6 separate regions of the Homo sapiens genome follow, and regions 2, 3, 4, 5 and 6 are each linked to region 1. The links are contacts of gene promoters, found by promoter capture Hi-C in blood cells and fetal thymus (Javierre and others, 2016). All regions are on one chromosome and are shown on one strand. The core of a region is centred on a gene start or on the middle of the fragment in contact, and the rest is flanking DNA. Distances in the headings are between cores, read along the strand shown.

What was found. Contacts are between HindIII fragments. The CHiCAGO score rates a contact against its expected background, and 5 or more counts as called.
Region 2: a fragment that was not itself captured here is called in contact with the fragment with the promoter of ZNRF2 in region 1 in 7 of 17 cell types (total B cells, total CD4 T cells, fetal thymus and 4 more); the score reaches 7.0 in total B cells.
Region 3: a fragment that was not itself captured here is called in contact with the fragment with the promoter of ZNRF2 in region 1 in 1 of 17 cell types (activated CD4 T cells); the score reaches 5.1 in activated CD4 T cells.
Region 4: a contact is called between a fragment that was not itself captured here and the fragment with the promoter of ZNRF2 in region 1, in 5 of 17 cell types (naive CD4 T cells, total CD4 T cells, naive CD8 T cells and 2 more). The highest score is 7.7, in naive CD4 T cells.
Region 5: a contact is called between a fragment that was not itself captured here and the fragment with the promoter of ZNRF2 in region 1, in 4 of 17 cell types (naive CD4 T cells, total B cells, fetal thymus and 1 more). The highest score is 7.1, in naive CD4 T cells.
Region 6: the fragment with the promoter of MINDY4 here is called in contact with the fragment with the promoter of ZNRF2 in region 1 in 2 of 17 cell types (naive CD8 T cells and activated CD4 T cells); the score reaches 5.4 in naive CD8 T cells.

What each region holds. Positions count from the first base shown.
Region 1 is chr7:30,283,321-30,286,020 of GRCh38, forward strand. It overlaps ZNRF2 (zinc and ring finger 2), which reads left to right and starts at 1,277. Exons shown (of 5, transcript NM_147128.4): 1 at 1,277-2,506. The coding sequence starts at 2,038. LOC124901607 (a long non-coding RNA gene) reads left to right here. Exons shown (of 3, transcript XR_007060274.1): 3 at 879-934. The region is part of intron 1 of LOC105375218 (a long non-coding RNA gene); the gene reads right to left. RefSeq lists silencers at 1,123-1,552, 1,563-1,612, 1,693-2,082, 2,163-2,242, 2,393-2,522. The HindIII fragment of the contact is 18,269 bases long and covers 1-2,700 here.
Region 2 is chr7:30,551,720-30,554,419 of GRCh38, forward strand. It overlaps GARS1-DT (GARS1 divergent transcript), which reads right to left. Exons shown (of 7, transcript NR_038889.1): 6 at 381-460. Among named protein-coding and RNA genes, the nearest start is that of GARS1-DT, 25 kb to the right of the region's middle. The HindIII fragment of the contact is 7,366 bases long and covers 1-2,700 here.
Region 3 is chr7:30,609,160-30,611,859 of GRCh38, forward strand. It overlaps GARS1 (glycyl-tRNA synthetase 1), which reads left to right. Exons shown (of 17, transcript NM_002047.4): 7 at 426-571. Among named protein-coding and RNA genes, the nearest start is that of GARS1, 16 kb to the left of the region's middle. The HindIII fragment of the contact is 3,439 bases long and covers 1-2,700 here.
Region 4 is chr7:30,587,999-30,590,698 of GRCh38, forward strand. No RefSeq gene overlaps it. Among named protein-coding and RNA genes, the nearest start is that of GARS1, 5.5 kb to the right of the region's middle. The HindIII fragment of the contact is 738 bases long and covers 1,082-1,819 here.
Region 5 is chr7:30,568,618-30,571,317 of GRCh38, forward strand. It overlaps GARS1-DT (GARS1 divergent transcript), which reads right to left. Exons shown (of 7, transcript NR_038889.1): 3 at 216-372. Among named protein-coding and RNA genes, the nearest start is that of GARS1-DT, 7.8 kb to the right of the region's middle. The HindIII fragment of the contact is 1,331 bases long and covers 698-2,028 here.
Region 6 is chr7:30,770,026-30,772,725 of GRCh38, forward strand. MINDY4 (MINDY lysine 48 deubiquitinase 4) reads left to right here and starts at 1,392. Exons shown (of 18, transcript NM_032222.3): 1 at 1,392-1,531. The coding sequence starts at 1,469. All of the region lies in intron 3 of INMT-MINDY4 (INMT-MINDY4 readthrough (NMD candidate)), which reads left to right. RefSeq lists silencers at 1,273-1,322, 1,383-1,432, 1,803-1,952 and an enhancer at 1,508-1,802. The HindIII fragment of the contact is 5,437 bases long and covers 1-2,086 here.

The sequences.
Region 1 (2,700 bases), core at 27-2,526:
AAAACTTGATTCCCATACCCTAAGAGTGATGAAAATCATTACATAAATGACTTATTGCAAATAGTGAAAAGATGACAAAGTATTTCTGTAGTTTTATAAAACACCACTTGCTATTATTATTTTCAAGTAGAGACTAGACATTTTCATAATGGGAGTCTCAGAGCAGGCTGTTCCCTGGGTATCCAGACCCTGCTCTGCCGTGAAGAGACCACACCAACACTGAGGAAGGCACTGAGGAGAATTTTATTACATTTTAGAGAAGTTATAGGATTTTAAAGAGGCAGGTGCCCTAGGATTTAACACAAACAGTTCAGGTAAGAAACCTAAAGTCGGCCTGGTGCGGTACGTCACGCCTGTAATCCCAGCACTTTGGAAGGCCGAGGCAGGTGGATCACTTGAGGACAGGAGTTCAAGACTAGCCTGGCCAACATGGTGAAAGACCGTCTCTACTAAAAATACAAAAATTAGCCAGGCGTGGTGGCACGTGCCTGTAATCCCAGCTACTCTGGAGGATGAGGCAGGAGAATCGCTCGAACTCGGGAGGCGGAGGTTGCAGTGAGCCGAGATCACACCATTGCACTCCAGCCTGGGTGACTGAGCGAGACTCCGTCTCAAAAACAAAAACAAAAATAAACCTAAAGTCCAAAAAAGTAAAATAATTTGCTCACTACAGATAATTTAGTTTGGTGTTGGGCCTAGATTCTAGGTTTTGTGAGTCAGGTGCAGCGTTCCTGGCACCACAGTATTTGCCCTACCACAGAGGGTCAACCTGGATTATCCCGAGTTCTTCCAACTCTGCGCTTCCTCCCAGGTTGGTGTTTCATGAGTAAGTCTGAGATCAAGCTGGCTTTTGAGCTTCTGTTTTTTTTTTTAATCAGTGTGTAACACCAACACCCACCGAAACCAAACGGCTCTGGGCAGAGGACACAGCCATTCACGCCCCCTGCCAGGAAAAGCTGCAGCTGACACAGGCTCCTACAGCGTCGGCGGGCCACGTGCGGGAGGAGGGGCCGCCTTCTGGTTGGCGCCCGGTGTCCGTTCCTCCTATCGGCGTAGGCCCCGCGAGGAAGACAAGGGCGCGCCCTGGCTGGGAGGGCGTGGCCAGAGACCTGTCCATCACCGAGTCCACGAGTGGCAGCACCTACCACACCGCAGTACCTTGGCGAGGCGGAGCAGGGGCAGGCAGGTCGCGGAAGGGGGAGGCGGAGCAAGGCCGGCGGGAGCCAATCGGCCTGGCGGCACGAGGGGGCGGGGGCGGGGTCAACGCGCGCGACCCAAACACACGGGCCGGGCGCACCCTGCAGCCGCGCCGCTCCGCGGCCTTCCGGCGCGGGGCCGGGGAACCTCCTCCCCATCTGCGCACCCCCCGCCTTCGCGGCCCAGATCCTCCCGCCAGCCCGGCCCCTCCTTCGCAGGGGGAGCGAGGCGACGGTTGCCGGGAAGCGCGCGCCACCTCTCCCTCCCATTTTTCGTTCTCCCCTCGCGCGCCACCCGTTTTTCCTCTTTCTCCGTTAATAACAGCTGGGTGGCTGGGGGAGGAGGGAAGGTGGCCCCGGCGGAGTCTGGGCGGGCGCCTCCCACTCAGCCGCCAGCCGCCGTGGGAGCCGGAGGATGGCGGCGGTAGCAGCGGCCGCCCGAGAGGAGGCGGTGCCGAGATCGGGGGCGCCGAGCGCGGCAGCAGAGAGCGGTAGCGGCCCGTCGTGGCGCACCAGAACCGAAACCAGCGGCAGCCGCACGGCCACTTGAGCCGCCCCTTCCTGCTGGAGCCAGCGAGGGGTGCCTGCAGCCGGGACCCCTTCCTCTCCGCGTCTCCTCGTCTCCCGCGCCCGCGTCAGGCCGTCGGCCTCGCCCGCCGCCCCAAGAAGAGCGCGCCGGGCGCCGACTGCCCCTCTGGACGCCGGGCGGCGGCCCTGGACGTGCGGGGGCCTCTCTGGGCCGGCCGCGGCGCCTGGGCCCTGCCCTCTAGCTCCCGCGCTCGCTCCCGCCCTCCCGGCTCTCGGGGCGCAGCGCGCGGGCCCGGCCCGGGGCAGGGCGGACATGGGCGCCAAACAGAGCGGCCCGGCCGCCGCTAACGGCCGCACGCGCGCGTACTCGGGCTCGGATCTACCTTCCAGTAGCAGCGGAGGCGCCAATGGGACCGCGGGCGGCGGCGGGGGCGCTCGGGCCGCCGCCGCGGGGAGGTTCCCGGCTCAGGTGCCCAGCGCGCACCAGCCCAGCGCCTCCGGCGGCGCCGCGGCGGCCGCGGCGGCCCCGGCAGCCCCGGCGGCCCCGCGCAGCCGCTCCCTCGGCGGGGCCGTGGGGAGCGTGGCGTCGGGGGCCCGCGCGGCGCAGTCCCCCTTCAGCATCCCGAACAGCAGCAGCGGCCCGTACGGCTCGCAGGACTCGGTGCACAGCAGCCCTGAGGACGGCGGCGGCGGCCGGGACCGGCCGGTGGGCGGGAGCCCCGGCGGGCCGCGCCTGGTGATCGGCTCCTTACCAGCTCACCTCTCGCCGCACATGTTTGGAGGTACGGACCCCTCTCCGCGCACCCGCGCTCGGTCCTCCCGCGGCTGCACGTGGGCCGTGGCCGCCGGCTATTTTTACCCTTCTCCTTTTCTCCTTCTGCCGGGGCGCCGGGGGCTGCCTCCCGGACCAGCCCGCGTCGGTCTCCATCCTGGAAGAAACCCGGCGCTTAACACCGGCGGTGCCGCTACCGCATAG
Region 2 (2,700 bases), core at 43-2,542, 270 kb after region 1:
GTAATCCCAGCACTTTGGGAGGCTGAGGCAGGTGGATCACGAGGTCAAGAGATCAAGACCATCCTGGCCAACATGGTGAAACCCCGTCTCTACTAAAAATACAAAAAATTAGCTGGGCATGGTGGCGGGCACCTGTAGTCCCAGCTACTTGGGAGGCTGAGGCAGGAGAATCACTGGAACCCGGGAGGCGGAGGTTGCAGTGCACCAAGATTGCGCCACTGCACTCCTGCCTGGCGACAGAGTGAGACTCCGTCTCAAAAAAAAAAAAAAAAAAAAATTCCACTTGTTCAAAGATGAGTCATCAAAAAGGAAGACATGCAGGATCTCTGCAAATGTAGGAAAGGGATAGGAAAAACCAATGGCAGATGTGGAATACTCACCAGGAAGAGGCTGCCATGGAGCAGACACCGGTCATAACCAAGCAATTACCAGGCACTTAAAAACTTAATGAAATGGTCGCCTTTAAGAAGGAAAAGGATAAAGTGAGCTCAGGGAAATGATGTTAAGATATCAGAAGGTGGAACATGAGCTCAGAAGAAAAGTGGAAAAAGAAAAGAAAGGCAACTAGGACTAGTCAGGGTTCTCCAAAAAAACAGAACTAATACGATATCTATCTATCTGTTATTTTGTGTGTGCATATAAAATATATATAATATTATATGTGTGTGCGTGTGTGTGTGTATATATATATATATATGTATGTATATTCTAGAGGAAGAGAGAGAGTGAGATTTATTTTAAGGAATGGGCTGCCATGATTATGGAGGCTGGCAAGTCCAAAATCTGCAGGGTGGGGGCTGGCAGGCTGGAGACCCAGGAGAGCCACTGTTTCAGTTCAAGTGCAAAGTTCATGTGCTGGCAGAATTCCTTCTTGCCTGGAAGAGGTCAGTCTTTTGTTCTATTTAGGCCTCCAATTGATTGGTTGAGGACCATCCACATTAGGTAGAGTCATCTGCTTTACTCAAAGTCCAATGATTTAAATGTTAATCTCATCCAAAAACACCCTCACAGAAACATCCAGAGTAATGTTTGACCAAATATCTTAGTCTCATGACCCAGCCAAGTTGACACGTAAAATTTAACCATCTTACCTAACCAAACCAATGCAATGATGATTCAAATCAAATTTAACAACAAATTCCAAACTAGAGTGACCTGCTCCCCTTTGGATTGTCTCTTTGAAAGGGAGAGGCCATGAATGTCCTTCCATCAGGGATGAGGGTCTTTGCTCCCTACATTGCCTCCTGTAGTCACTGGCAATGATATCAGTGAATCTAAACTCCCATGAGTGGGTCATAATGAATACTAGACTGATATTAGATTTTATCCTAGCTATCTGAAATAGGAATGACTGGTCTCCCTTGCCCCCAGAACTTTTAGACAGTTGGTTGAGCCCGGGACCCTGGGGACATGGGTGAGATCAATATGGCAGACTTGCTGCACTGTATTGCTTGAAGTCCTGTCAATAGCAGCCTTAATTTTAAATGTGATAGGAATCAAATTAAACAGATTTGGTCCCTCTGTTGGTCAGACTAATCAGAGCAGCTGATGAGGTAGCATACTCATGGGAAAATGTGAATTTGGCCAAGGATCTGTCAGGCCTTGTGGTGGATTTTTGTGACAGGCAATTTGCCACAGGCTCTGATTGTCTCTGCATGCTCTTGCTGGGGATGACAAGAATGCAAGGTCCTGACTGTTCCTTGCTTGGGATATTTCTCAGGGTTGTGTTTGCAGTAGACAGCCTTGACAAAGCAATATCCCCCTGCCCCAGACAAAGGGCAGACTTGCTCACCACTTACTATTAAATTGTATGTTCCCAAGCTCAGTGTTCCTTAGCTGCAGTACAAACACACTGCGTGTACAGTAACCACCTGGGCCCCTCCACATCACCCCTGTGGGACTTGGGGACAAGGAAAACCAATGCTAACTAACACAAACCTCGTGCAACTTGTTCTGCCATGAGTAGTGTAGTCCTTTGTCTCTGATCCAGTCTCATGTCATCTGCCAGCATCCATGAAACCATAACAGGCTTACTAGCTTGTAAGATGGGCAAAATTCCCGACTTTCACAGATTCCAACACACATGACCCAAGTAGGGCCAATCAGGGATTCTTCCCAAAGATACTTCCTCAAGAGCACTTCCCCAGAGTTCTTTCCCACTGATAGATGGGTGATGGGAAAATGCCATCCATTTTATCTCTCTCTCCTTCTTCCCTTTATCAGTTTATATACAAGTTGTTGGAGGTTAGCTTTACAATTTGGTCTTTTGGTAACAGAATATTTAGAGGGACTGTGATCAAATTCGAGTAATGAATATAGCCAGAGATAGATAAAATTGTTGTTGGCACGAGTATCTTCTCATTTGGGAGAAAGGGTAGGAATATTTTCCCTGGTAAGAAGGATAGCTGTATTTTGTTCGTTGTCATATAGAAGTTCAGGTATGTGTAGGAGGGTGCATATGGAAACTGAGTAGCCAAAGGGGTGGGCTGTGACAGTTATCACTTTAGAGCCTCTGAATTCCAAATCCACTCTTCGTTATCCTCCTTTGTGATACTGGAGATGAATCCTGTAAACATTTCTTTGCCTGCTAGCACGATATTAAGTGCTGTCAATGGAGGGCTCTGGAGAGACACTGCAGGAAGAAGAGGCTACCTTCCTTTCCTCTTGCTCCTGCTCTTGACTGGTGCATGGGGCACCCAG
Region 3 (2,700 bases), core at 177-2,676, 330 kb after region 1:
GGTGGTGGCTATTAATAGTATATTTGCTTGACTGGATCTTTAAAATACAGAGAAATGCAGAAATGCACCTTAAATATGTTCAGAGTAGTAAAATTCAGCTTTGAAAACTTATTTAGGTAATTTCAGATTCTTGCCAACCAATAACTATTATAATTGAATAAGAGGTATTTTGCTTTATCTTTCACTTTGAAACAGTGACTATATGAGTTTTAGGTCCCAGAAGGATATTTTTTTCTCTCTTGATAAATGGAAAGTGAATAAATTGGTTATGGTTTTAATGTGGGTGTCCTGAAGGTTAGGTTAATTGTGATGTTCCTGAATTTTGTGTGATTGTAGCAGTGGATGGCTAGGGTTATATATAATACTTTATATCTTATGCCTTGTTTTCTCTGTCTTTTACACTAATTTCTTTATATGTCTTTTAGCTTGATAACTATGGACAGCAAGAACTTGCGGATCTTTTTGTGAACTATAATGTAAAATCTCCCATTACTGGAAATGATCTATCCCCTCCAGTGTCTTTTAACTTAATGTTCAAGACTTTCATTGGGCCTGGAGGAAACATGCCTGGGTATGTATCACTTATTGTTTACCTGTTTATGTAATGAAGTTTTTAAAATTGCTTATATTAAAAGGTAAATATCAATGTTATGAAGGAAAAATTTTTAAAAAGTGATATACAGAAGTACAGATGAATGTATTATGGAGAAATAATGGCAGAAATAAATCTTTTAAAAAATTCTTTCTGAATATAATTTCTTTTTTGGCATATATGTATTTTTTTGGCATAAAATAAAGTCTCTGATCACTATATCTTCTAGTTATAGCTGCATAGGGTAGAAGGGACAGTTGAAGAATGGTTTTAAAAGCCGTTGAACTTATTGCTGAAGGATATTTTAGAAACCATTTAGTTTAGCATGCTACTGTCCAACGGAACTTTCTGCAGTGATGGAAATGTTCTGTAATGTGTGTTGTCCAGTATGATTAGCTACCAGCCACATTTGGCTCTTGAGCACTCATAATGGGTCCAGTTCTTCTGAGGCACTGAATTTTAAAATTTATTTCATCTTAATTGAAATTTAAATAGACATCTGCCTGGTGTCCTACCATATTGGACAGCATAGGTATAGCCTGTTGATTTGAAAGATGTGGTTTTCATGGATAAAGAATATCTGGTTAGTTTACAGTATGATTCAGAATTGGAATCTTTATCTTCTGATTCCTTGTCCACTGTTTAACAGACTTAGCCAGTGTTCCATTTCATAGCTTTAGATATTTTTCTATGATAGGGTAAGAGAGTAAGTTTTTCCTACATGAGCTAGATAGATCGTGTTTCCCAGAGTAGGGACTGAAGAATAAGAAAAATTAATTGTGACAAAATGTGTTGCAGTTAATTATTCTAATGAGACATCAGGTTGATTTGGAATATTTCATGGAAAGAGGCCAGTGGCAAGCCTTTCATTTTGGCCATATGTACAGAGTCATAAAATGAGACATAACCTGTGACCCAGACATTCCATTTCTGGGAATTGATCTAAGGAAATAATTCAGAAGGAAAGGAAATTATACTTAGAAGAAGTATATAAATTGAAAGTAGAAATAACCTATTCAGTAATTTGAGAGTGGTTAAACAAATTATGGTAAAGTGGATTAGTTTGGGATAATATTCTGTCACTATTAAATGTGAGAAATTTGTGCCATTATTTAGAAAATGGGAAGTATAAAATAGGTAATACATGATTTTATACATACTAACTGTAAATATATGTATAAACTTTACTTACATTTGGATGAAATCTGGAAAGGGCCATAAAAATCAAAAGAGTTGGTCTGTTAAGTAAGAAGAGGGTACAATTTTAGGGTTTTTAGCCCTTGGTTTTAAAGTTATTTTAGTAAAATACTTATTCTGAAGTAGGCCATTGGGAGCGTTTCCTTAGTGGATGTTTTGCACAGAATATCTTCTAGGAAATTGAGAGGGCAGTGGTTATAGTAGTGTATTTGCTTGACTATATCTTTAAAATACAGAGAAATGCGGAAGCCTCTGGTTGAAAATATAAAATACTGCAGATAATAAAATGATTTGAAAAACATTGAAAATTACCTGGCTTGGTGAGGTGATAGTGATAAGTGAGTGCTGATGTTAAATGTGAGCCTATACTGATTTCTTTTTAGCCCCTCAGTTAAGTTTTAATATGTGGGTTAACAGGGCTAAACATAGGCATGGGTATTATTTTCCAAAGGACCTAAGATTGTCATCTGCCTCCATGTACATGATGACTTAGAAGACATCAGGGGTTTAAGGGGCACTATGGGAGAGGTGGTGTTTTTTGTTTGTTTGTTTTGAGATGGAGTTTCGCTCTTGTTGCCCAGGCTGGAGTGCAATGGCGTGATCTCGGCTCACTGCAACCTCTGCCTCCCAGGTTCAAGCGATTCTCTTGCCTCAGCCTCCTGAGTAGCTGGGATTACAGGCATGTGCCACCACGCCTGGCTAATTTTGTGTTTTTAGTAGAGACAGGGTTTCTCCATGTTGGTCAGGCTGATCTCGAACTCCCAACCTCAGGTGATCCGCCCACTTCAGCCTCCCAAAGTGCTGGGATTACAGGTGTGAGCGACTGCGCGCGGCCTGAGGTGGTGTTTTTAAATTTATTTTTATTTCTGCTTTTTGAGAAGTGGGGTTTTGACTCACTGGTGTAATTAAAT
Region 4 (2,700 bases), core at 201-2,700, 300 kb after region 1:
TGACAGGTACCAGGGCTCTTATATGGCACAGAAGATTCAGGGAGGATACTACCTCACTGCTGTGACACTCACTGTCAAAGCCCCAAGAGGCACCTTGAAGGGACTTCACTTCTCAAGAAAAGGAATTGTATACTCAGTTCAGGGAAGATTCCTGTATTAGTTATCTACTGTTATGTAACAAATTACTCTAAAACTAGCAGCTTAAAAAACAACAAATATTTATTGTCTCAATGTTTTTGAAAGTCAAAAATATGGAAGAAGTTTAGCTGGCAAGTTCTGGATCAGGGTCTTTCATAAGGTTAGATTTGAGATGTCATCTGGGGCTGCAGTCATCTGAAGGCTGGACTGGGGCTGAAAAATCTACCTCCTGCATAGCTCAACCCCATGGCTGTTGGCAGGAGGCCACAGGTCCTCACTGACTATTGGCACTAATCATAAAAAAGTTGGAGTGGCTATATTAATGTTAGGCTAAATATATTATAAGATAAAAAGTATATTTTGAGATGAAGAAGAATATTTCATAATAAAAAAAATGCCATTTGCCAGTAAGATATAACAATTATAAATGTGTACATGCCTCATAACAAATTCAAAATACATAAAGCAAACGTGAAAGAACTAAAGGGAGAAATAGACAAATCCACAGTCGTGGTTAGATACTTTAACTTCTTCTCTTAGTTACTGATAGAACTAGATAAAAAATTAGTAATGATCATGAAAGTTGTCAGAATCTAAGTGGAATTACTTATGTCAAACTCTAACAAAAATAAATAAATAAGGCTGGGAGGCTGAGAAGCAGGGCGGTGTGTGGGGGGGTGTTGCACACATATCTATGATAAGAACACGATTACAAAGACTCTCTGAAGAGCTCTTACCCACCCATGCCTGTAAGAAGAACTTTTGTCAAAGACTTCCCAAACTGCTACATGAATCACAATGATAGCTAGCCAGATGTACAACAACACCTGCCTGACACACTGTCTTCACTAATGAACTGGCTTCAACTCCTGTGATAAGCCCCTGTAACCAATATTCTCTGTTTCAAGGCAAATTATGTGTCCTTCTCCCTGTTGCCTTTAAAAGCTTCCCCTTGCCTCAGCCTCTTCAGTTATGCCTATGGTCCCAAGAGCCCTATATCCTGGATTTGCAAGTCCCCTGCACATCTCAAATAAACTCAATATCTCTGGAGAATCTCCCTCTGTCTGTTATTTGGGTTGAAGTAATACAGAAGATCTGAACAACACTATCAACCACCTTGGTCTAATTGACATGTATAAAACACTACATACGATAACTGGATAATACACAATTTTTAAGTACACATGGAGTGTTCGCCAAGATATACCATATGTTGAGTCATAAACAAGTCAATAAATTTCAAAAGGCTTTCTCAGATCACACAGGAATTAAACTAGAAAGCAACAATTAAAATAATAGGATATGTTAAAAAGCCCTAAATATTTGGAAATTAAATAACACTTTTCTCGACAAGGAGTAAGTCAAAGAAGAAATCATAAAGAAAATTAGAAAGTACTTTGAACTAAATGAAAATGAAAACAATGTATCAAAAATTTGTGGATTTAACTAAAGCAGTAAGTAGAAGGAAATCTATAATTTCAAATGTTTGTCTTAGAAGAAAGGCTTATAAATTTTCATATTGAGAAGCTAAAAAAGAAGAGCAAATTAAACCCAGAGTAAGTAAAAAGGAAAACATTATAAAGATAAAAGTGGAAATCAATGGAATAGAAAATAGACAAAATAATAGAGAACATTAACAAACCCAAAACTTTTATGTTTAACAAAATTGATAAAATTGGTAAGCTTTTAGCAAGACTAATCAAGAAAAGAGAGGGAGAGAAAAAAACTAATTACTGGTATCAGGAATGAAAGAGGAGATTTCATTCCAGATCTTATACATATATTCAAATAATACTACTGGAATATTATGAACAACTTTAAAACAATAAATCTGATAACTTATATGAAATGGCCAGATTCCCTGAAAAACAAAACTTACCAAAAGTGGCAAAAGATGAAATAGAAAGCATGGATGGCTCTGCAACTGCAAAAAAACTTTTCCACAAAGAAAACTCCAGAATTCACTGGTGAATTCTATCAAATGGTTATGGAAGAAATGATAACAATCTTACAAATATTGAAATTTCAGAAAATAGAGAAGAAAGAAACTCTGATTTTATAAAGCCAGGCCAAAACCTGGCAAAGATACAAGAAAAGAAAACAATACACTGATTGCCTGTATGTTCATTTTTCATGAACATACAGGCAAAAATCTTTATCAAGATGTTAGTAAATAAAATCCAGCAGAATATAAGAAAGACAAAACCAAGTTGAATTTGTTAGCATTACACTAAATGGAGAAACATTGAACACTTTTCCCTCTAATATCAGGAACAAGGCAAGATGTTCATTCACTGCTTCTATTCAATATTGTGCAAGATGACCTAGACTACGCAACCACACAAGTAAAAGAAAAAGGCATAAATATTGGAAAGAAAGAAGTAAAACTGATTCTATTTACAAAGTATATGCATATTAATACAGAAAATCCTAAGGAATCGGCCGGGCGCGGTGGCTCACGCCTGTAATCCCAGCACTTTGGGAGGCCGAGGCGGGTGGATCATGAGGTCAGGAGATCGAGACCATCCTGGCTAACAAGGTGAAACCCCGTCTCTACTAAAA
Region 5 (2,700 bases), core at 113-2,612, 290 kb after region 1:
GTTTCCAGCAGGGAAGATGAGTTTCAGTTTTTTCCTGCTTCTAGGATGGGAGAGAGCAGACTTCAGCCTGAGACTCATTACTAGGTAAGTAGCTGAATTGGAGTTTTGTCTTGGCTAGAGTTAAGACTAACAGCCAGCTGGTCTTAATTTCTCCTTACTATTAGAGCACTCAGTGACCACATAAATTGTGTGATTGTTTGTTTGTTTCACTTAACTGTTTTTGTTGTTGTTGTTGTTGCTGTTTGTTTCTGTTTCTTGTTGTTTTCATCTTTTTCCCATTGGGTTTGACCAACTCTATCCAACTTGATCAAATCCGAAGGAAAATTCCAAATTATGGAGAACAAGACCTCTGAATTGGCTAAATTCCTGCAACTGAAAAAGAAAAAAGAAAAAAACAGCTAGCAAAAGGAAAAAAAAATTTTTTTTGATTTTGACTACCTTAGGGGCTTTATTTACATAACAAGGCCATCTTTTGCTAACCAGGCCAAACTGAAAGAGCAATGGTTGTCCCCCAGCACTGCAGTTTGGAAACTAAGATTCTGTCCTTATTTTCATCATGACTGCCTAAGTTTGGTTCCTAAATCAAGCCCTTTCTGGTTTGGTATTTGCATTACTTTTGAAATATCAGCAGTTTGTACTAGCTAAAATACAGTAATGAGATTTGAAGGTATTTTTTTTAAGGAGCTTAGTGGCTAAAAGCTTAAATAAAAGCTAACATCCAAGGTGTGTGTGTGTGTGTGTGTGTGTGTGTGTAGTTAAGGCCTTTTTTATTTCTCTCCTTCAACTTTTTGAGCAAAAGTTTTTTTCTTCTCCGTCAACCAAATTCTGTTTTCTTCATTTTACTTCTGCTGCCTCTTCTTTCTCTTGCTACCCTGTGCTGCATGAGGAATCTAAAATAGTTTCTAACACCCTGGGATTCCTTAAAGAAAACAGAGAAGGCACTAGACTCCCTTTTGGGGAGCAACCTCTGTTTCTCCTTATGGAACTCAAAGAGTGTAAAAGAGAAAATTTCGTCTCAGATCTTACACTGCTTCCTTTTGTATAGTGTTACCTGGTTTCTTTCTTTCTTCTTTTTTTTTTTTTTTTAACTAAAATAATTATTTTAGTCAAAGAGTAACAACAGAGGTTACTGTTGGGTGTTTAAAGTTAGGAAGAGAGTAGTTCAGACACTTAGAGAAACATTTTTGTTAAAAAAAAAAAAAAAAGGAGAGTGCACTCATAAAACCATCACATGGTCTTAGCCTCATAATAATTCTCTTTTTGGAGACCCGGAATTCAGTGTGGGCTCTGCCCAGAGCTCAGAGATCCAGTTAAAAGGCAGACTAAATTTAGAACTACTTATATAAATAAAGTCAGTCTTCTAATATAATCCTATGATAGATTTCTATAATTTTATGTTTGATTTGGCATTCGTTTTTAATCTCCTCCTACTAGTGAGAGGTGAAACCAGCTGGACTTCCTGGGTCGAGTGGGGACTTGGGGAACTTTTCTGTCTAGCTAGAGGATTATAAACACACCAATCAGTGCTCTGTGTCTAGCTAAAGGATTGTAAATATACCAATCAGCACTCTGTAAAAACGCACCAATCAGCGCTCTGTGTCTAGCTAAAGGATTGTAAATGCACCAAGCAGCACTCTATAACAATGCACCAATCAGTGCTCTGTGTCTAGCTAAAGGATTGTAAATGCACCAAGCAGCACTCTATAACAATGCACCAATCAGTGCTCTGTGTCTAGCTAAAGGATTGTAAATGCACCAATCAGCACTCTGTGGCTAAAGGATTGTAAATGCACCAATCAGCACTCTGTAAAAATGCACCAATCAGCACTCTGTGTCTAGCTAAAGGATTGTAAATGCGCCAATCAGCACTCTGTAAAATGCACCAATCAGCACTCTGTGAAATGGACCAATCAGTGCTCTGTAAAATGGACCAATCACCAGGACGTGGGTGGGGACGAATAAGGGAATAAAAGCTGGTCACCACAGCCAGCAGCATCAACCCGCTCAGGTCCCTTTCCATGCTGTGGAAGCTTTGTTCTTTCGCTCTTCATAATAAATCTTGCTGCTGCTCACTCTTTGGGTCCACACTACCTTTAATTGCTGTAACACTCACCATGAGGGTCTGCAGCTTCATTCCTGAAGTGAGACCACAAACCCACCAGAAGGAACAAACAACCCTGGACACGCCACCTTTAAGAGCTGTAACACTCACTGCAAGGTCCGAGGCTTCTTTCTTGAAGTCAGAGAGACCAAGAACCCACCAGAAGGAATAAATTCTGGAAACACTAGCACCAGACTCTTTCTCTCTGTACCTTGAGATGTAAATTTCACTATCTGATTTTTTTCATCTAAGAGTTCCTTTAATATGCAAATTTAGGGTTATCTTAGCTGACAACTGCCTAGGGTAATAAGATCAAGAAATTAGAAGTCTAGAACTGGAGGAAAAAAAGAGGTCTTGTGAAATGATAAGCTCTACTTCTATCTGCATGTATAATACATCTATGTATTTATGTGTCATGTATATGATGTTTCACTACTAGAAACATGTAAAAGTGCTCTAATTAATTGGCTTAAAGAAAAAAAGGGGCTTTAAATCAAATACTGTATCAGAGAAAATAGAGATTTTAAGCCAAATGTCTTTTCAAGTTCATGTGACTTAAGTATATCTTTAATAAATAAGCTGGTTTTGAAAGTAGTCAT
Region 6 (2,700 bases), core at 142-2,641, 490 kb after region 1:
TCCCAGCACTTTGGGAGGCCGAGGTGGGCGGACTGCCTGAGGTCAGGAGTTCAAGACCAGTCTGGCAACATGGTGAAACCCCGTCTCTACTAAAAGTACAAATATTAGCTGGGCACGGTGGTGGGCGCCTGAAATCCCAGCTACTCAGGAGGCTGAGGGAGGAGAATGGTTTGAATCCGGGAGGTGGTTGTTCACTTGGCAGTGAGCCGAGATTGCGCCACTGCATTCCAGCCCGGGCACCTGAGCGGGACTCTGTCTCAAAAAAAAAAAAAAAAAAAGAAAAAAAAATTCCCGTGTTGAAGTCCTAATGCCTGGTATTCCAGAATGTGACTGTGTTGGATAGGGTCTTTAAAGAGGTGATGAAGTGGAAATGCAGTCATTAGGGTGGACCCTATTCCAATACAACTGATGTCTTTATAAGAAGAGATTAGGACACAGGCACACACGGACGGCTAGCCACGTGAAGACACTGGGAGAAGGTGGCCATCTATAATAGAGGCCAGGGAGAGAGGCCTCAGGAGAAACCATCCAGCTGACACCTCGATCTTGGTCTGTAGCCCTCAGAACTGGGAGACAATAAATGTGTTGTTTAAGCCACATGGTCTGTGGTACTTTGTATGGCAGCCCAAGCAAAGGAATACAATAGGTAACATGCGGAAGTGGCAAAGATTGTGAAGGTGGAACCCAGGTGACTAAGTTCGGGGAAAATGTACTGGGCTTGGTTAGAAACCCAACTTTCCCAGTACCCAGCTGTGTGGGCCTCAGCAAAATCTTAGCCTTTCTGAATCTCAGTGTCCCGTTTTAAAGAATGGGGCCAACAGTAACTACCTAGCCAGGAAGTTGTAAGGATTAAAAGTGCAACCGTGAGTTAAGAGCTTGGTGATCAATAAATGGCAGTCTCATTACGGGAAAGCAGGCACCAAGGGGGCGAGGAACATCTCCTTTAATTTCGGTGCCCAAGAAGCAGAATGCTGGGCTTCCTTGCCCCCACCGTCAAGGCCCGCCAAGGTCAGTAGCGTTGGTGGCCCCAGAGGGGGCCGTGGTGCTGAGGGTGGACCTGAGGGGGTCACTTCCCTGTGAGTTTAGTCCTCCAGAAACAAGGAGGCAGGTATTCTTCCCATTTTATGTCTAGGAAAATGGAGCCTCGGAGCGGAGCGGTAATTTGTCCTAGGCCTCTCAGATGACCAGGGCCAGGGTCAGAGTGAGGCCCCGAGTCCGGAGCCGTGGACGGGGCCCTAGGCGACACCAGGGCGCCCTGACTGCGGCCTCCCACTCCGAGACGCGAGTTTGCGGGACGCTCCACCCCTTCCCTCCCGCCCCAGCCCGCCAGCCCCAGGGAAGGGGAGGAGTTCTTGCCGCGCCGACGCCGCCGTCGCCACGGCAACGCGGCCATACTGCGCCGGACAGACCCAGTTGCCTGGTGCTGCGGCCCGGCGTGGGCCTCGTGGGCAGAGCCAGAGCCAGAGCCATGGACAGCCTCTTCGTGGAGGAGGTGGCCGCCTCCTTGGTCAGGGAGTTCCTCAGCAGAAAGGTAACGGCTCGCCCCCTCCAAAGCCCAGGAAGTGGCTCTAATTTGGGGGGATCATCGGGGTCTCCCCTGAAGGCTTTGCAGCTTCTGGGAGGGCGCCCGTTCCCTACCTACTGCCTGCTCCAGAGATGCCCCAGAAGAGCGCCGCTTTCCCGGGACAGGGGAAACTACATTTCCCACGAGGCGTTTCTGCCGTCGTCACCGGGCGCTTCCGCAAGGCACGGTTTGGACCCCGTCCGCTGCCCTCCTGGGGCATCCGCGCTCCGGGGCGGCGGCAGCTGGGGAGGGGGCCTGGGGGCCGCGCCAAGCAATCCTAGCGCGGGCGCACAGCGGGCAGGCCTGCGCCCTAGCCTGGCTGCCGGCCTCCGTGCGCTACCCACGCAAGTCAGGGTCCCACTCGGAAAGAACTTCTCCCAGAGGGAACCCCAAAAGCCCAGAAAAGTTCTTGACGGTCAAACCCTTAGTCATTTTAGTCAACAGTGGGAATTCCAGTGGTTGCTTTAATTTTTGTAAGTTTTCCTATTGTCTTGTCCCAGGAGAGTTTTTGCAGTGTTCACAAGCTTGGAAGGTCCTTAGCTGTCATCTGGCCTCAGGGTGGAGATGGGGACCTCGGTGGGGAAGGAGCTCGCCGGGGGGTCTTGGGCGTGGTAGTGGAGGGGGACATACATTAGCTCATTCAGCACATGGTGACTGAGGGCTGCACTCTGTGTGTTTTGTCTGTCCTTGCAGTGTCATACTGGGCTAGGGCGATGGGTACTTGTCTTGTATGAAAACACATACACGTAATTTTTTGAATGGAGGAAAGGGGAAGGACTTTGAAGTCAGACGGAGACAATTCAAATATTTGCTACTAGTTTGCAGTGTGAACCTCAGTACTTTACTCACTGTCTCAATTTCGTTATCTGTAAAACAGGAAAGTAAGACCTACTCTTTGCAGATTTATAATGAGGATTAATATTAACATATGGGCAGCTTCCAAGCATTGGATCTGACATATAGATACAATGTGCACGTAGGTGTTCAACTTTATACCTCCTCCCACCCTCACTGTTTCTGACACCAAACAGGTGTCTCTGAAGTGCACCTGTTTGGAAAGTGTCTTTGTGTGTTTTTTATGATTTATTTTTATTTGAAAAAATTTTAAATGCGTTTGGCTTTGTCGCATCTGCCCT